2 separate regions of the Homo sapiens genome follow, and region 2 is linked to region 1. Evidence: promoter capture Hi-C in 16 types of primary human blood cells and fetal thymus (Javierre and others, 2016). All regions are on one chromosome and are shown on one strand. Each heading gives the region's core, a stretch centred on a gene start or on the middle of the fragment in contact. The rest is flanking DNA. Distances are from core to core; before and after follow the strand shown. Region 1 holds the start of MB21D2 (Mab-21 domain containing 2). Region 2 overlaps FGF12 (fibroblast growth factor 12).

Region 1 (7,245 bases), core at 277-2,776:
AGTGAGGAAGAAGAAAACCTAGAAGGAAGAAGGTATCCCAGGATAGAAGCAGCAACAGCCGGCTGAAACCCAATTAGATTGCAGGAGAAAGAGAAAAGCCCTGTCTTAGTCTGTGGCCAAAAGACCTTTCCCAATCAAATTTTTCAACACCTGGAAAATTGGCTTATCTATTTGTAGAGAGCACCCAGAGACGAGCGTTAGAGCAGCGCTACCCTGGAGTACCAGTTCTTCGGAATGTTGACCGCCGGCCACGCACCGCTTGACAGCCACGGATCCGCTGGCGGAGCCGCAAGTTACAACCCAGGCGCCTGGCAAACTCACACTACACCTCAGTAGCAATAATCCCAACGGCAGGACACCTGGGGAGGGTGGGCTCGGTCTCCCGGGCCTGGCTCAATTATGTTCCTTTACACAGCATTCAATCATGTTTCAGGAGCCGTAGGTGAGGGGCTGGAGGTGGGAGTGGGGGACACATTTTCTAGCCCCCGACGTCTCCGCGGTTGGAAACTCTGGGCACCTCTTTCGGCCAGCGCTAAGACAATACACAAAGAGCAGGGAACCGGCGCTCCTCTGCGGCCAGAGCTCCGCGCCTAGTCACGGAAGAGCTGGGAATTAAGAATTCCGAGCTCAGCGAGAGCCCTGAAGAAGCACCGGAAATGCTTCCGATCGCTTCATAAGAGAAGTCAATTTGCAAATCAAAGTTGCAGGAACTCCGGACGCCTAGACTACTTCAGCGGGTTACTCGGGAACACCCAACAAGTTTGGCCACCGGGGGCTCGGCATGACAGCGCCGCGCCGCGAGACGACAGAAGCAACTTGTCGCTCGGGCGCCAAGCCAGAGCCCTGAGCCGTCTCCGCTCCCAAGCTCGGGAGAGCACCCAAGAGCCGGCGTCGGGAAAGCGGAGGTCCCTGCCTCCGGCAGCCAAATCCCTCAACTGAAGGCACCTCAGGGGCTCACCTGGACTGCACTCGCTTCCAGGGGCTTCCCCCAACAGTGCAACGCTTCACCGCGAACGCCTCACCTGCCTGCCAGCCCCAGGTGGCGGAGAAATTAACAAAAGAGCAAGCGAACAGGGGGAAAGGGAGACCCGGCGTAAAGTATAGTAAGGAGGGGAGGGCAGGCAGCTCGGCTTTCGGCGGAGAAAGAAGAGAGAGGCGGAACAGAGATGGCTTATACCCAAGGCACCGGCTCGGGAAGGCAACCCAGAAGGGAAGAGGTCGAGAAGCGGCAATGGGTTTTCTACTCCGCTTCCCATCACACACACACACGCACACACACCTCCCCCTTTTTCCTCCTTACCCAGCATGGAAAAGATGAAATCCTTGGCTGTGTGAATCTCCAGCGCTCTCTGGTCGTCGTATTCCCGCTGGTCGTGCTTCGTAAATTCTTGGATGAGTTTGTTCAATTCCTCCACCCGAGCTCCCGACCTGAAATCCAGCTCCGGGAACGCAGGCTTGTTGTTACAGCCCAGGGAGGCTGCCTTGTTGGCGGTGGGAGCCGCCATCTTCATGCAAAACGCGCCGAGTAGCAGCTCCGCGGCAGCGCGGCACCCACCCCCGCCCCCCACCCCGCCCCCCTGGGCCTCCTCCCCTCGCAGGCTCCCAGGCTTTGGCCCCGGCTCGTGGGCGGGTTGGCGGGCGGGCGTCTGGGCGGGCAGTCCCCCGCTCCGTGCGCTCTGGGCGTGCGAGCTTCGGGAGGAGCTGGACTGCAGCGAGGGTGCGTGTGTGGCCCCGACACCCTTTTCTCCGGCCCCACGCCCGCCCCGATGCTGCGCGTCCCTGCCCTGCCCTGGCCCTCTCTGGCAGCGGCAACGGCGGTCGTAGAGCCAACTGGAGCCTCCCCCGGGCGAGGAAAGTGAAGTGGAAACAATGTGAAATTCACCAGCTCTGAAATCAACAAGCTGCCGGCTCCGGTGTTACGGAGCCAGCACCAGCGTCTCCATTTAAAGGGACAGCGCACCCAGTGGAAAGGAAAATAAATAAATGACAGAGGTCTGCACGCATATACCACTTGCCAATCCGTACTTGGGAAGACGCGCGAGGTGTGGATGCATTCTTTCTCCACCTCCACGGCCGTCCCCCCATCCCCTTTCTGGGCAGGGTTTGCCAAGCGCATTCAAGGAGAAGAAAGTCTTCCTCCGTTTGATTTTAAGGGCGGTGTCCTGGGGGAGGACATCTCTGTGCGCGTTTACCTCTCTATCCCAAGAACTCCAATACCTTTAAATAGTAAAGGAAACTGCCTTAAGGAATATGAAACCTGTCTTCTACCCTTTTCCTCTTGGATTGCCAAGATGATAGGATTGAGCGTATAAAAAAAGAGGGTCCACATCTAACCCAGTATTGGCACTCCCACTAACCCCTAGATATCCCTACCTTTGCCCAAGGTAATTAATGACCTGAATAACAGCTTATTTATCTTAACATATAATGAGTTAATGAGATTCAACCTACTCTAATATAAAGATAGGGAAACTGAAGTGTGGGTGTGGGAGAGGGGAAACAATGTATTGCCCCAGGTTCCAAGAAATGTTGGATGACAAGATGAAAATTTTCTCATTCAACAGATAAAATTTGAGTACGCACCATTTGCCAGATGGAGTGACAGAATGTGACAGTGATAACCAAAAGACATGGCTCCTACCATGGAGTTAGGCTTACATGACAAGGCAGGTTCAATCTAAGTCATAGTCCTTTAGGCAGAATAGAGTCTCAGAGGTGGTTTTAGTGTTTATGGGGTGTATCATTCAAACACTTAGGAGGCCCATTGGCTGTGAGAAACATAGGTTATCTTCCTCCCTAATTCTCCAAAATCTCTCTTCTCTATCCCACAGTCCCTGATTTAGATCAGGTCTGTTTCACTTTCTTACCCGAGTTCTCATGGCCAAGAATACAAATTGTTTTGTTAGACATGGAAGGAAGTACGGACTCTTCCATGCCTTCCCCTATAAAATGGGAATAATAATTCCTGTCTCACAGGTTGTTTTAAGGATTACGTGAGATAAAACAGGTCAAGCACTTAGTTCAAGGACTGACATAATAAGTACTTAGCTATTATCAGCTTCTACTATTATTGTTATTAATTCTTTCACTGTTCCTCAATCTAGTAACAACTTGTTGCCAGAGTGATCTTTAGAAAACACAGACCTGACCACTGACCTCCCCCTGGAATTCCTCTCTTCTTTACTCCGTTTACACCAAAACCAATCCGCGTCTGCCTTTTTCTTACAGCTTTCCGGAGACCCTCCCCTCAAGCTGGTGGCAACTTTTCCTTCCTCAGAACCTACTCTCAGAAGCTTTCATATGATGCTAATGAATTTTGACCTTGCTTCATCATTGCTTTTTGTTTTGGGTTGTGTGTGTGTGTGTTTGTTTGTTTCTGAAACAGGGTCTTCCTCTGTAGCCCAGGCCAGAGTGCAGTGGCACAATCGTGGCTCACAGCAACCTCAACCTCCTGGGATTAAACAGTCCTTGCATCTAGATCTCTCAAAGGGATTACAGGCGTGAGCCACCACACCTGACCACTTCATCATTGTTAATGCAAGTTTTAGACTAAAAGATTCTTGGGGATGAGGGCTACATCTTATTCATCTTTGTATTTCCTGCAGCATATGGTCCTACCGAAGGGTCCTCTATGTTTATTGAATCAAGTAATGAGTGAAGAATTGTGGCATAACCAGTTAATTTCTCTTACTTTTCGTTTCCTTCTCTTTGAAACACACTTCCTCACCCACTCAGTATGAAAGAGAGAGGATCCATGCCTAGATAAATGCTGGTGGACTGATGAGGAAGTGACTTAAAAACTCTGGTTTTTAGGCAGGGCGTGGTGGTTCACGCCTCTAATCCCAGTACTTTGGAGGCCGAGGCGGGCAGATTGCCTGAGCTCAGGAGTTCGAGACCAGCCTGGGTAACACGATGAAATCCCATCTCTACTAAACATACAAAAAATTAGCCAGTTGTGGCGGCGTGCACCTGTAGTCCCAGCTACTTGGGAGGCTGAGGCAGGAGAATTGCTTGAACCCAGGAGGCGGAAGTTGCAGTGAGCCGAGATCGCGCCACTGTACTCCACCCTGGGTGACAGAGTGAGACTCCATCTCCAAACAAACAAACAAACAAACAAACAAAGCAAGCTCTGGCTTTCGCAGCTCTGCTATGCTGCCCTGACTTCTCATCCTGAGAGGATATTAACATTACCTGGGCAGTACTAGAAGCCACATAAGTGTTTGGAACTCCAGCACAAAGTGATCCACTCCCATCTGTCAGTGCTTCACTAGTGATCAATGGCAGGCACCTGTGCGACAGCTGGCTGAGGCAGTCATTCCATAGAGCAGAATGGTTCTAGTTACCTCCAAACCATGTACAGTTAAGAAATACTTCAGACAACAAAATCGAAACACTTTTTATTTGTTAATTTCCAAACATATGAATGAGGCATCACTAATCTTCCCTTAATTTTACCTTTTCTTATGATATTTATATCCATAAAGAAACAACAGGTTGTTAGCAGAAAGTATTCCTGTTGTGCCGTAGTGCTGGACCCTGGGGGTTTGAATGAGTGAGTGGTCTCTCTGATGTTCCTCATTGTCTGTTCTCCTTCCCGTCAGCCAGATCAGATTTCTATGAATCATGGACCCTCAGTGAGCCCGCATATCCAGATAATGTAATTGGATGGTAAACTAACACCTTCCTAGGCTCTAATAGAACGCTGATAAGATTGTGTCAATATCCCTTGTTGAATTAGAAGAATAGAGAAAAACGATCAAAAACCATAATTTCCTGAATTGATCTATTGGGAGACTTTTTAACCTCTGAGCTTCTCAAGGGCAAGTACTGTGTTTCTTCACCTGTGTAAACACTGCATTTAATTTAGTTCTTGACCCATCTTATGACCTTAGTTTATATGTTCAAATGAATATATAAAAGAATGAATGAAGCCGGGCACGATGACTCACACCTGTAATCCCAGCACTTTAGGAGGCCAAGGCGGGCAGATCACAAGGTCAGGAGTTCAAGACCAGCCTGGCCAACATAGTGAAACCCCATCTCTACTAAAAATTCAAAAATTAGCTAGGCATGGTGGCATGCACCTGTAGTCCCAGCTAGTTGAGAGGCTGAGGCAGGAGAATCGCTTGAACCCGGGAGGTGGAAGTTATGGTGAGCCGAGGTTGCACCACTGCACTCCAGCCTGGGCAACAGAGGGAGACTCCTTCTCAGAAAAAATAATAATAAAAAAGAATGAACTAATACCATCCCTCAAAGTCCAAGAAGTCAGAATTTAGGTGATTTTTGCTACAATTTAAATATCTCAATGTAAGCTATCTATGGTTTCCCAGTATTTAGTTAAGTGTTGTTATAAATGTAAGTATTTCTGCATGCATTTAATTAAATGCCCCAATTTTTATGCCTTTTTCTCCCTGTGTATGTTATATGACCTAAGAGAAGGAAGAGAGATAGAGAGGAAGGTGGAGAGAGAGAGAAAATCATTATTAGAAGATGTTAAAGAGTGTCTGAGGCTTGAATAAAAATGCATATCTCTAGAATTTTGACAGATGGACAAAGGTCAGTGGAGTCTACCATCTAAACAAGCACTAAGGTAGGCTTTTCCTTTGCTGGCTCTTGCAGCATCAAACAGAACAGAGTAACAGCCTGCATTTCCAAACTGCTGTCACACTTAGAGGTAGAACTTGCCCTTCTACTCCCAACTCCCAAATTTTATTAGCATGTGAAAGAAGTCTTCATCTTGCTTCTCTGGAGCTGTTTGTTGTTAAATACAGCTCTGAAGTTCTGTGGCAAACTCTCAGCCATGAATAACTGGGCTGTGCAGAGCCTGCATTAAAAATAGCAAGCTCCACATCCACATGATGGATTAACAAAATATAATTTTAAACAAAGATTCTCTGGTCTGAGGGAGATTTAAATAGCAGCCTAGGCTACAAGATCTGGCCTTCTTGGGCAGCTGGATTTTCAATAAAAGTCTAACAAATGGAAGTGGCCTGGGTTTTTTATGATTTGAAATGCAGGCAGGAAAAAGAGAGGCAAACATCACAGACGTGTGGAATGTTGACAGTAGAAGGAACTTAGATGATAAATTCCATCTACCCCCCTTATTTACCAGATGGGAGAATGAGGGCACAGAAAGAGAAGGGAAACTTGACTAGATAGTAGAGACAATTCTGTTTCTATTTTTCATACTAACTTTAAATTTACTAAATATTTGTTATTGTGTTTCCAGACTGCCAGAAGGAACATGAAAAATGCCACGAAATTTGATCAAAATTATAATTTAAAAAATAAAAATAAAAACAGGAGAGTGGCCCTTGGGCAAAATGCACTCATTTCACTTGAAGTTAAATCTCAGTAAACCAGAAACTGCTGACATTTGGAATTACTTGGCTACTGATTTTTCCTGGCAATAGGTAGACAATCAAGACTACAGCTAAATCTCTTTGGTAGTCATAAACAGAGGTGCGCACGTCCCTGCTTGGGGCAAATCGGGCACTGTTACTTCTAATGAGATTAGGCCGTTTAATTTTTTTTTTTTTTTTTTTTTTTGAGACGGAGTTTCGCTTTGTTGCCCAGGCTGGAGTGCAGTGACACCATCTCAGCTCACTGCCACCTCCACCTTCTGGGTCCTGATTCAAGCAATTCTCCTCCCTCAGCCTCTGGAGTAGCTGGGATTACAGGCACACACCACCACACCCGGCTAATTTTGGTATTTTTAGTAGAGACAGGGAATCACCATGTTGGCCAGACTGGCCTTGAACTCCTGACCTCATGATCTGCCCACCTCAGCCTCCCAAAGTGCTGGGATTACAGACGTGAGCCACCGCGCCCGGCCTTAGGCCATTGAAATATTAGCGAGGTCCCCAGAACAATATAAATAACCCTCTCTATTCAGACTATTCAGTCCTAATAAAGTGAGGCCCATGTGAAGCCCACCTGCTCTGATGTGTTCACATGGTTCAGAGGGCCTAGTCCCAGCTTCTCCCTCAACCCTGTATCCTCATAACCTTGAGGGCGTGAGTGATCTAGCTATGGAGAAAAGTGCAGCAATGTAAATCTCTCCACTCAGTCTCTCATTTTATTCTCTGCTCTCTCTCTCTCCCCCAACCCTGTACTCTAATGACCTTGAGGGCGTGAATGATCTAGCTATGGAGAAAAGTGCAGCAATATCAATCTCTTCATCCAGTCTCTTGTTTTATTCTCTACTCCTGCTATACTCAGGGAAGCAAAATCTGTGCGTGTGAA
Region 2 (7,124 bases), core at 2,147-4,646, 440 kb before region 1:
CTGTAACTTTTTCTCAAAAGATGAGAAACCTGGCTCCCAGAGGACAATCAATAGCAGAGCTTGTCCTCCACAATAACCTACTCAGCCAACACAAAAGTGTGTATGTTTACCAAACTAAGTAGAATTGTGTAAGATCTAAATTAGGCTAAGTGAAATTAAGTAGCTCTATGTTTTATGACCCAGAGAATCTGTTCTGTGCTATTTACCCAAGGTCTATAAAGGAATGTGTGTAATAACCGTCCCCACAATGTTTGTAGTTGTGGAAACTGAAGGCAACCTAGGTGTCCATCACTGGGGGATGGAAACATAAAAGGTAATGGATATAAAAAGTGGGCACTGTGCAATAAACTGAACCTGGATAGACTTCAAAAACAGTGTTGAATGAAGAGTCAGGAGATCAATAATAATACCACTTATGTAAATTTAAAACACACGCCTACATAAAAATTATCTGTTTTACAAAGCTATGTGTGTATATTTGGCACATATCAGATTCTGCATATCATGATGGGAAGGGGAATGGAACTGGATATAAAGGGAAAGAGTATGACAAAATAAGAGAAATGCATTTTCACTGAACCAAGATAATGATGTGTGATGCGCTGGAGAGTGTAACTAATTCCAATGTCCTCTCTGGAGGTAAAAATCAAAGTAGGCAATGTGTAAGAAGTCAATGAAATCATCAAAGGCCAATAATAAGATCAGTCTTTAACTTAAAAACAATTTTTTTACTCATATTAAATTTATTGTCATTCAAGGCCTCCAGAAGCTAAAGGGTAAGAGGTTTTTTTAAAAAATTCAGCACTGAAGATATTTTAATTCAAAACGACATGCGAGAACAATCTAAATGCATTACAATGCTTTGAAAATCCAACATTGGCTCTATTAAATATCTTGTTTTAGTAATGGAACTTTGTTGTTGTTGTTGTTGTTGTTGTAGTTGTTGAGACAGGTTCTCACTCTGTCTGCCTAGGCTGTAGTGCAATGGCACAATCTTGGCTCACCGCAACCTCTGCCTCCCAGGTTCAAGTGATTCTCCTGCCTCGGCCCCCCGAATATCTGGGATTAAAGTTGACCGCCACCACACCTAGCTAATTTTTGTATTTTTAGTAGAGATGGGGTTTCATCACGTTGGCCAGGCTGGTCTCGAACTCCTGACCTCAAGTGATCCTCCTGCCTCGGCCTCCTGAAGTGCTGGTATCACAGGCATGAGCCCCCACACCCGGCCTAGTAACGGAGTTTGATAACTGTCGTGAACATTCATCATTATCAGGGTACGTCAGTTATTCCTTGGGCTTTTTCTCCCACAAGGGAAAACTAATCTCTTCATTCTCCATGTTCATTTTACGCCAGTCACTGTAGCCCTTTCTCCATCTTCTGGACAAATGAAGCATGACCTCCTTGGGCTTGTGCTGCGGCTGACCCTTCTGTCTTCACTCTTCCTCCTCCACAGTTTCACACCTCCGGCTTCTCATCAAATGGCACTTCCCCAGACATCTTGCCTGACCACCTATTGAAATTACCTCTCCTCCACCCTTTATTATCCCCAGTGCAGTTTTATTTCATTGGTTGTTTCATTTAAAGTATTTTACTTTACATGATGACTTTCACTCTCTCCCCACTAGAATGTATGGCTCTTCAAGGCCTGTTCATTGTGATGTTACCAGTACTAGGAACGGTGCCTGGCAAGGATTAGATGCTCCATAAACATCATACTCGCTCAGGTTGCAGACATGTACTTCTTGGGAATGTTTTATTCAGATGCAGTTTTCAGCCCGGGAACAGAGCTTTCTCTGAGTCCCTATTTCTATTCTTAGCTTTAGGAGCCAAGCAGTGGTATAATTACTACATATGACACCAGAAAAAAATTACTTTTTAACATTTCTCTCCTATATGCAACAAAATTATTTGTAATCATAATACTAATAGAGAAATTTGCAAACAGTGAAAAAGTGTTTATTCAATTCTATATATAATGAAACCAGCAGTAAAATAAAAATAATGTAATGAGAAGAAATAAAACAATTACATTCATATACTTTTTAGAAAAGGGAAAAATTGTATACCATGGTTCATATTTTATTTCACTGATTTAAATGCTAGGCACAAAAGCTCTTCAAGTGGTCACAGAATTGAAGTAACTCAAATTACTTCTTCATCTTCACAAACTGTGTTATTATTGTTGATTTCAAATCTACTATTTAAATCCAGGAATTGATAGATATAAGCTGCTCTCAAAGTGAGCTGGGATATTCTGAGCCATGGCTAATTTATGCTCAAAATGAACATGTGTAGCTGAGTTTGCATGTATTGAGGACCGACTGTGGAACTGGGAAGTCTCTAAATTAGCTTTCATATAGATAGAATACAGTGTGTTCAAGGATACATGATTTTAAAATGTGAGAATTTCAAGCTTACATATTTATTCTAAAAACTCAACTGTAAGCAACTGCAACAGAAGATTTTTAAGGGGAAGAGTATGTTATCAAGTACCTGCACATGCTGATTAAAACAAAAAAAGCCTATAGATTGTATTTCACTTTATTAATTTTGTTTTTGTTGTTGTTTGTGTTTTGAGATGGAGTCTCGCTCTGTCACCAGACTGGAGTGCAGCGGTGTGATCTCGGCTCACTGCAACCTCTGCCTCTCGGGTTCAAGCAATTCTCCTGCCTCAGCCTCCTGAGTAGCTGGGACTACAGGCGCCTGCCACCACGCCCGGCTAATTTTATGCATTTTTAGTAGAGACGGGGTTTCACCATGTTGGCCAGGATGGTCTTGATCTCCTGACCTCGGGATCTGCCCGCCGCGGCCTCCCAAAGTACTGGGATTACAGGCATAAGCCACCGCACCCAGCCTAATATTTTTAAATCTGTAGACACCACACTCCCTTATTGTCCGTATTGGGTCAGGCCTCTCCGGTCATCCAGTCCAGCTACACCAGTGTAGGTTCAGATACTTGGAATGAAACTTAACATTTCCTTTCCTAACACTGTCACTTCCACATGGTACCTGGATGACACTCCATACTGTCACCTGGCTTTTTCTCCCTCTGATTTCTGTCTTCTGCTAGAGTCCAAAGGTTCCCCCAAAGCCCACATTCCAGGGCCTCCAAAGACTCACAACACCCTGGAAATTCCCAAAAGGCTAATAAGCTAAAACTCATGAACAGCATCCAGCTATTCCACAGAGGAATGAAGAGTAGGAAGGGAGAGAGTCATTCACACTCTGCTCCAGGAAGAGGGATGTCTCATTTTCTCTAATTCTCTTGCTCTCCCTGCTGGGCTCCTCAGCCCTGTCTCCTCACCTCCTCCCACTACTTGCCCTTCGTTCCTACCAGGGGTGTTAAAGACAAAAACACAAAGCCTGTGTCTCCATGATTTCGAGTTTGTACTTGCTATTCTCTTTACTTGGTATTGAGAAGTACAAATGTAATTTCTACCTAAATAATTCCTATCCCATTATTCAAAATTCTGTTCAAGTATCACCTGTTCTGAGAAGTCTCTCCCTATGTCTCTCTCCTTCATGGCAGGCTCCAGAAAGATTTAGCCATTTTCTCTTTAATGCCGTTTCTGTACTTGAAAAAACTTCTACAATTGACATGTTTTTACTCACTGTGATTTCTTTCAGTTCAGAGCCTATGAGTTTACTCATCTTTGTAATTCTAACTCTTAGGTTGTGTTCAATTTATGGAAAAATGTTTGATTGAAACAGGAAATACAAGATACAAGGTATGTTTTGGAGCCAATTGTAACTTAAAATTATCAACCACACCTCACCCCTCAAGCTGCAGAAGTTTGACCTAACCTTCAGAATGGCTGACACACTGATTTCCTTGTGCTTTCACTAATTTATTCCCATGCCTACTTCCAACAAGTTTTCTAGACCAGATGACATTACTTGCCATCCCTTATCATGAGTTGATGGTTATTATGGGGTAACTAAAGGCATAGTGGTCATTAAAGGCTGTATACATGGCTGGTGAATCCAGGAAATGAAATACAGAAATATTATTTAGCTGGTTACACTCTATCTAATTTCTATCTACGTGAAAGAAAACTCATGGTAATTATTACTTATATACCAATATGTCATTTCTGAAACACTTAAGAAATGAATTAGTGAAAATTCAATATTACTTTGTAAGTGTAGTATTTTGGGTTACTGTCCTGAATCATGTTTCCTCTCTAAAACAGGATTATACATCTCTATTTATTGTCAAATGACTTGTCATACATTCTCTGGGAAAGAACCACATTCCCACCTCATTGATTCTGCGCTTGGCCACCATGTGATATGCACTGGCCGTGTGACCAAAAGAACGGTGAGCAGACATTTGCCATGATTAAACAGAAGCCTTTAGTGTAACTGTGTGGATGGCTGAAGCTTTTCTGTTCTTGCCCTCCACCATGAGAATATCATGTCTCCAGACAGGGGTTGTTGCTCTTTCAGTAAAGGTTCCACAATGCAAAGAAACATAGAGCAGAACTACACTCACCTAGACTCATGCCCTGAAGCGCTCATGGTGTGTGAGCATGAATTAAATATTTATTGTAAGCCACTCAGCTTTATAGTTGGTCTTCACACAGAACACAGAAGAAAACCTTATGCATAGGGCAAATTATTGAAGACTGATTTTATTTTAATTTAAGGATAAGAATGATATCATATTGCCTTTTTATAGTTTGGCACATTAAAAGGTTCTAAATAAATATTTTGAATTAATATAATTGCAATAAAGTAAAACAGGTTGTGTTTAACGATGTAGAAATTAAAACTTTAAAAATTAGTTCTCCTTTGTGTATTGGACATCTGTTGTTTTTGTCAGTTCAGAATTTCTTCCTCTACTTCCAGGAACAACACTCATCTCATTTTAGGGGCAAGTAATTCTTCTAAGGCTTTTAATCATAGGACACTGGCTTCCCAGACCACAAGTTTAAGCACATAACCCAGATTTGGCCAATTATAGCACCTCATTTTCTCTGTCACAGTGATTGGTGCTTGGATAGGAACATAATCTAGGATGATAGAGTCCTTCCTTGAATTTCCATATACTGAAGTGGTTGGAGAAAACTGCTACCTTTTTTGTTGGGTTCACAGATGTAGTAAACTGCAGCCATGCCCAAAAGGTATAAAGAAAAAGGAAGGCCAGGTACGGTGGCTCAGGCCTGTAATCTCAACACTTTGGGAGGCCAAGGTGGGTGGATCACCTGAGGTCAGGAGTTCGAGACCAGCCTGGCCAACATGGTGAAACCCTGTCTCTACTAAAAACACAAAATTAGCCAGGTGTGGTGATGTGTCCCTGTAGTCCCAGGTATTTGGGAGGCTGAAGCAGGAGAATTGCTTGAACCCGGGAGGTAGAGGTTGCAGTAAGCTGAGATCGTGCCATTGTACTCTAGACTGGGAAACAAGAGTGAAACTTCATCTCAAAAAAAAAAAAAAAGAAAGAAAGGAAAAAGAAAAACAAAACAAAGCCCACAAAGAGAGTAGGAGAATTAACAGAATGTTCTGTGGGCTCTTGAGTCTTTTGCCTAGTTCTTGAAATCCCATATCTACCTCATTAATGTAGCTCTTCTTTCTGTGAGCAATCCTGGTATCCTTCTAACAATTCCTTCTTTGCTTAAGTAAATTAAAATTGAGTTTCTGTATCTCAAGTACTATTGAATATAATTTGAATTAAAGTAGCTTTCAACCATTAGTTTATAAATCAAAACAGAACAAATATTACATTGATCCAATTCAGCAAGTTGGGTTGTAAAGAATGATGATGCTCTTGAAAGCACGCCAGGTAACCCTAATCAGTGGTCCATTCTAGCTCTAAATTAGTAAGGATTAAGGATAGGTTGTTCCTGAGCCTTTCCAGAGCTTCCGCCCATATCCAAGGAAGACCTTTCCCCCTTAATCTATAAACGGAATGACTGGGACACAGAAAAGTGACATGCACACAAAACATACAACTAATGTAGGTGCCAGTGAAGGGCATGAGAGAGCATGATGCACAAGGTTGCAAGCCTTAGATGACTGGAAATACCAGCTTGGTCCAAGAATTATTTTTCCAGAAATACTGAAATAAATACAGAAAATACAAGGAAAGCACAAATTCAAAGATGTTTCTACCCACTGATGGGAAAGTTGTAAAGCTAAGCCAAACAGAAAAAGCCAGAGTGCTTTAAGTGATTATGGATTCCAGTATTTCAGGAGAGGCCCATGTTTTCTAGACCAAATCTTCTCATATCATAATTTTTAAATGACAAAGAAATGAAAGGATTACACGTCAGTGCAAAAGCTGTTCTCGTGATAGGGAAATTCACAGGGACCGAACACAACTTCTATGTGTCTGAAATACGATTCCGACCTAATAGTCAGAAAATTTCCTTCCAGAAGTCCACCACTTGAAGCCTAAAATCATTATAGATCAGATAGATGATAGATAGATAATAGATAGATGGTAGATATAGATGATAGATGATATAGATAGATGATAGATAGATAGATAGATAATGATAGGCAGATATATAAAATATTTCTGAAAAATAGCCTAGCCCACTCAGCAAAGAATGTAACAATCTATGAACTTCCCAAACCATCATCAAACAGCATAAAATAGAATAACGTGATCCCCAAGAGATCACCTGCAGCTCCAGGTGAGATGACACCCGAAAGACTTTCCATACATGGCCTAAACATTGGCTTCAGAGATCACATGTGAGCTCTATATTTTAAAGGGCAGGACAACATAAAAATAATCATAGCTACAATCTTGAAACTTTTTTCTGCATCCATTTACCTAAATGATTCTGCCCAGTGACTACCATTTAGTTCTTACCTATGAGGAAAATATTGTTATTTTTGTTTACAGATGAAAAAAAAATGAAGCCCAGAGGTCTCTAACAAAAAAGTGGCAGAATCTAAATGTGAATCCCAATTGTTTGAGTCTAAAGCCTGACTCCCACCACCACTCTACATTAACCCTGATGAATTACTCATCATTTTACCACAACATATGGGAAGTACTTGATAAATAATTAATGAATGAATTGATCAATGGCATTAAGTCCAACAGCCTCACAGCCATCTGTAATATGCCCCCTGTTTATTTTGTTGGTATTAATCCCCACTGTGACTTT

What was found. Contacts are between HindIII fragments. The CHiCAGO score rates a contact against its expected background, and 5 or more counts as called.
Region 2: a fragment that was not itself captured here is called in contact with the fragment with the promoter of MB21D2 in region 1 in 1 of 17 cell types (total B cells); the score reaches 5.2 in total B cells.

Annotation. Positions count from the first base shown.
Region 1 is chr3:192,916,330-192,923,574 of GRCh38, forward strand. It overlaps MB21D2 (Mab-21 domain containing 2), which reads right to left and starts at 1,527. Exons shown (of 2, transcript NM_178496.4): 1 at 1,301-1,527. The coding sequence starts at 1,511. RefSeq lists an enhancer at 493-822 and a silencer at 1,473-1,832. The HindIII fragment of the contact is 3,892 bases long and covers 1-3,291 here.
Region 2 is chr3:192,469,461-192,476,584 of GRCh38, forward strand. The region is part of intron 2 of FGF12 (fibroblast growth factor 12); the gene reads right to left. Among named protein-coding and RNA genes, the nearest start is that of FGF12-AS2, 42 kb to the right of the region's middle. The HindIII fragment of the contact is 1,970 bases long and covers 2,412-4,381 here.